Linked DNA regions of Homo sapiens: region 1 is linked to region 2. Evidence: promoter capture Hi-C in 16 types of primary human blood cells and fetal thymus (Javierre and others, 2016). All regions are on one chromosome and are shown on one strand. Each heading gives the region's core, a stretch centred on a gene start or on the middle of the fragment in contact. The rest is flanking DNA. Distances are from core to core; before and after follow the strand shown.

Evidence for each region. The method cuts DNA at HindIII sites, captures the fragments that hold promoters and counts their contacts. A CHiCAGO score of 5 or more calls a contact.
Region 1: a fragment that was not itself captured here is called in contact with the fragment with the promoter of IL18BP in region 2 in 2 of 17 cell types (endothelial precursors and megakaryocytes); the score reaches 5.4 in endothelial precursors.

Annotation. Positions count from the first base shown.
Region 1 is chr11:72,154,877-72,157,576 of GRCh38, forward strand. No RefSeq gene overlaps it. Among named protein-coding and RNA genes, the nearest start is that of FOLR3, 21 kb to the left of the region's middle. The HindIII fragment of the contact is 1,577 bases long and covers 615-2,191 here.
Region 2 is chr11:71,997,487-72,000,186 of GRCh38, forward strand. It overlaps IL18BP (interleukin 18 binding protein), which reads left to right and starts at 1,423. Exons shown (of 6, transcript NM_001039660.2): 1 at 1,423-1,533; 2 at 2,441-2,526. The coding sequence starts at 2,499. RNF121 (ring finger protein 121) reads left to right here. Exons shown (of 9, transcript NM_018320.5): 9 at 1-111. The HindIII fragment of the contact is 5,155 bases long and covers 1-1,490 here.

The sequences.
Region 1 (2,700 bases), core at 153-2,652, 160 kb after region 2:
GACACTGAATCAAAAGTTCAGGCAGCCGCTCATTGGTTAAGAAGGGATCTTTTCCAGGAGTTGCATCAGCTCTTAAGTGTCCCCGTTTGGGGAGCAAAAAGCTCTCATGTCCCAGGATCCTGTACATACACAATTCTGTCACCCACAGCCATCAGCAAAGATTTCAAGGTAGATTAATCCAAAGAGAATAGCAATTAATATCCCATGGTGCTAAATCCGTTCTTAGCCAAGAGGAACTTTACTCTGAGAGGGGCTTCTAACTCCCTAAATCTTAGAAGGGACTCTAACACTCCTGAGTTGGGCCTCAAACCAAAGTTCAGTCAAGTGTCCTTGCCTTTTATTAAGAGGGGCCTTTAACCCACTCTGTCTTAGGAGAGACTTTAACTCCCCTAAGTTGAGCCTCTAACCCAATTCCATCCTTTACCTGGGTACCCCGCCACTTACCCTAGATAGCCAATTGGTGCTGCAGTCTATTTCCTTTGGGTAGGGTGTCTCCTCAGGGTTCGACAGGAAGATGTTACCAGAAAGGGATCCAGATCCAGACCCCAAGAGAAGGTTCTTGGATCTTGTATAAGAAAGAATTTGGGGTGAGTCCATAGAGTAAAGTGAAAGCAAGCTTATTAAGGAGGTAAAGGAATACAGAATGGCTACTCCATAGGCAGGGCAGTGGCTTGAGCTGCTCCACTAAGGATACTTATTGTTACTTCTTGATTATATGCTAAAGAAGGGGTGGATTATTAATGAGTTTTCCAAGGAAGGGGTGGCCAATTCCCGTAACTGAGGGTTCCTCTCCTTTTTAGACCATTTAGGGTAACTTCCTGATGTTGCCATGGCATCTGTAATCACGGCACTGGTGGGAGTGTCTTTTAGCATGCTAATACATTATAATTAGCATATAATGAGTGATGAGGATGACCAGAGGTCACTTTGGTCGCCATCTTGGTTTTGGTGGGTTTGGGCTGGCTTCTTTACCACAGGCTGTTTTATCAGCAAGGTCTTTGTGACCTGTTATCTTGTGCTCACCTCCTAGCTCATCCTGTCACTTGGAATGCCACACCTCCTGGGAATGCAGCCCAGTAGGCTTCAGCTTCATTTTACCCAGCCCCTATTCAAGATGGGGTTGCTTTGGTTGAAACGCCTCTGACAGACCCACCAGAGGAGCCCTTCAGTTTGTATTAATATGATATGTGACTACTTATTTCACAGACACTGTGTGTCAAATGTCGGTACAATGCCAACAACTCACTTTCTTGGTTGTTGAGTTTCCGCATTACACAAATAAGGAAGCAGGCCCAGAGGAGAGCCTGGGAAATGAAGTTGGAGAGACCCATCCTGGGGTTGCTTGATTTAGGGATTTAGACTGGGAATGACTCCTCCATAGATCTGAAAGAAGAAACTGCACACTGTTCATAGTGGCTTCTTTTCTGCCAGCCCTAAACAGCTCAAGAAAGGAGAGTCTCTCAGTTATGAGGCTGGGTGTGAAGCATTTTTTTTTTCTTTGAGAGAGGTCTTGTTATGTTGCCCAGGCTGGTCTCCAAATCCTGGGCTCAAGCGATCCTTCCACCTTGGCCTCCCAAAGTGCTGGGATTACAAATGTGAGCCACCACATCCGGCCTGAAGCATCTTGGTTCATGCATCTAGCAAACCTTCAGTCTGTGTCTCTCAATCCCACTGGACATGAGGTCTGCCTATAACAATTATTTGGCTACAACCCCTTTAATATCCTGAACTTAGCTAAACAGTTATTTTAAAAATCCATATTCAAATATAACTAAAGAAGAAACAGAGGAAAAGTAATTTGTAATATGGATTTCTATTTATATTCGTTTTGACTCCATTAGCAGATAGCAGTCACTGCCCTGTTTGCACTTGTTTTGAATCAGTGAGCCTGTAGCTGCCAAGTGCAGACTAACAAGAGGTAAATAACCTGTATACCTTGAGCAGCTCTGACTTTAACTTATTCTTTTATTTTTTATATTTTTATTTTTTTTTATTTTTATCTCTTTTTAGACATGAGGTCTCACTATGTTGTCCCAGTTGACCTCAAACTCCTGCACTCAAGTGATCCTCCCACCTTGGCCTCCAAAGTACTGGGATTATAGGTGTAAACCACTGTGCCTGGGCTTTTATATATTTTTTAAGTGCACATTTTAATGTTTAGCTTGTCAGCCTTAAGTAACGAGATCCAGAAAGCTTGAGGATAGCTACACAGAAGCATAGATTCAAGTTGTCCTGAATATACACTTCGATTCACAGCAGTTACAAGTGAGTTTTTAAGGAAACAGAATAGTTCCTAAGTTGTTTATCAAGAATTTAAAATAAAATAACATAAGCAATTCATTGGCTATACATTGTTTTTTGTATCACAAATTCCAGGAACAGATAACGGGTGAGGCAGCTAGTCAGGGACAAAACGCCTTGGAACAATTGTCTCTGGGCATGGGTGGGGAGGGTGTGACTGAAGTTCCATACTCATGCCTTTCTGGGCCTGATAAATTGGGCATGTCTCACATCATGAGACTGCTCTGAGCTATTTTTCTTTTCTCAAGCTTTATACCAAATTCTAGGCCGTGGGCTTTCATTCATTCAATAAGTATGTATTGAGTGTTTATGTAATCGGAACTCTTCTGGGGTTACAATTTAACTTACTTTCTCACCTCCGAATGGTTATCACCTCAACGAGGACTAAATCCAATGATT
Region 2 (2,700 bases), core at 173-2,672:
TCTAGGGAATATGGCTCAGTAGGGCCTGCCCCTTCAAGGGCAGCAAGAACGAAGCAGGATGTTGTCACTCCCGTCTGAATAAAGCTCCATGAGCTGGGTTGGAAAGCTGAACATTTATCTTGCTTTCTTCTTCCCACCTCTTTCCCTGGGGTCCCCAGGGGTGTCTTGCCTTTGTTAACCCCCATCGGAGACCTGAGGGTCTGGGGGTGGTTGGGCCTGCCTTTCTGCTGTTCCCAGCTGTTCCCCTGCTGACATCCCTAGGAGTGGTGGAATGCCAGGCTCCTGTCCTGTGGCCTGGGGGCCTGGGGCATCATTGGGCCTGCCTTCAGACTGAGGTTGCTCTATGTTCTCACTGCCTGAGGACAGTGTCCCGCCACCACCTGCCTTCCTGAGGACCACACTCAGGCTCGGCTTCTCTTCCCCAGCTGTGGCTTCCCATGGTACCCTGCTGCTTATGCCACCTGTGGGGCTGTTCCCCTCCTCAGAGAGGGGAATGGGGCTGGTCAGAGGACCTAGGGATCACCCTTCCTTTTACTTTTTCCCCCCACCCCCCTGTCAGGCTCAGGTGAGAAGCCGAGGCCAGGCTGTCCAAAGCTCTTTTCATGTGTAACAGTTCTGAGTCCCTTGACCTCCCCCCTTGGCCTGACTCTGGTCTCGGTTCCACTAAGACAGAGTCCTGTCATCTTTCCCTACCATCCCCCACTGGACTGTCTCTCTCAGAAACCCCAGGCAGCCTTGCCTCCTGACCTAACTCCTGGAGATGCTGGTGTTCTTGGGAGGAATTTCTCCTGCATCTTACATGCTAGAAGCCCCTGGGGCAGGAGGTAGGGGGAGGAATTGAGAGGAGGAAAAACATGAACTAGACACCTAGAGAAGAAGGATGTGACTTGTAGTATCCTATGTCTAAATTAGGAATATGAATCTGGTTTTTCTACAAGAAGTTTGAGATCACAGCTGACTGTGTTCCTGATGCATCCACCAAACCCAGTTCCATCTGTGGGCCTCCCTGGCTCTGTCACCAGCCGTTGCACCCTCCCAATCACAGGAGTCACAAACCTCAGACATGCAGCTCCTGTCCACACTTAATATATGCATGCATTGGATCACCCAGCCCTGGTCTTTCTGCCTCCATGGATAACTGCATGACCCTGAGAGAAAACCTCCTTAGATTTAGCATCCTAGGTTCCTCACACGCCTCACCCTGAATCCTGGCCCTCCCGCAGCCCCAGCGCCATTTGTCCCATCAGTGACAAGATTCATATTCTGATGTAGACTCTGTTGCCAGAGCCAGTGTTGAGCCAGTCCGCCTCTTCCCCGGGAAGTGCCTGCCCTTCCCTCCTGTTAGGGTTGGCTCTCGAGCTTGTGTGCCAGTTCCTGGGTTGGCCGTGAGAGTTCTACAGACAAGGAGGAAGTGCTCTCGGTGTATTTCCTGTGGTGGGTTCACACGCAGCTAGACACAGCTAACTTGAGTCTTGGAGCTCCTAGAGGGAAGCTTCTGGAAAGGAAGGCTCTTCAGGACCTCTTAGGAGCCAGGTAGGAGTCTGGGACTACTAGTGAACCTAGACCTGTGGCTCTGGCCAGAGGGGCTAGGATGAGAGACAGAGGGTGTGATGGTGGGTGCTGGGAGATGTAGCCGACCTTGGGGCTGGTGGCTGGGGGAGTGGGTAGCCTGGGAAAGGCCAGGATGTGGACGGACTGGTATGGCATTGAGCCTGAAGTGGTCCAACTTGGGGTTCCCCAGTGCCTAGGAAAGTTGTCCCCTTGAATGTCAGTGTGAAGGTGAAGGAGGAAGCAGATGCCTGTTCATATGGAAACAAAGACCTGGCTGTGAAGAGGGGAGGCGGACACCAAAGTCCTGACACTTGGGCGGGACAGAATTGATCTGTGAGAGACTCATCTAGTTCATACCCTAGGTGACCCTGGGGGTGGCATGGGGGTAGATTAGAGATCCCAGTCTGGTATCCTCTGGAGAGTAGGAGTCCCAGGAGCTGAAGGTTTCTGGCCACTGAACTTTGGCTAAAGCAGAGGTGTCACAGCTGCTCAAGATTCCCTGGTTAAAAAGTGAAAGTGAAATAGAGGGTCGGGGCAGTGCTTTCCCAGAAGGATTGCTCGGCATCCTGCCCTTCCCAGAAGCAGCTCTGGTGCTGAAGAGAGCACTGCCTCCCTGTGTGACTGGGTGAGTCCATATTCTCTCTTTGGGTCTCAATTTTGCCTTCCCTAATGAAGGGGTAAGATTGGACTAGGTAAGCATCTTACAACCATTTGTGGTCATGAGAGCTGGGGTGGGGAAGGATTGTCACTTGACCCCCCCAGCTCTGTTTCTAAGTGCTGAAAGAGCTCCAGGCTATGCTACGGGAGGAGAAGCCAGCTACTGAGGAAAAGCCAGCTACTGAGAAAAAGCGGGAGTGGTTTACCATTCTCCTCCCCCACCTTTCACCAGAGAAGAGGACGTTGTCACAGATAAAGAGCCAGGCTCACCAGCTCCTGACGCATGCATCATGACCATGAGACACAACTGGACACCAGGTAGGCCTTGGGGCTACGCATGGGCAGGCGGGGTAGGGTGAGGTCTATGAACAGAATGGAGCAATGGGCTAACCCGGAGCCTTCACTCCAAGGCAAACCACCCAGCGCACCTGGTGCTGTTGCTTTAAGAACCTGGGCAGATATTGTAGCTCTGGCTCCAGTCTAAAGCTTCTC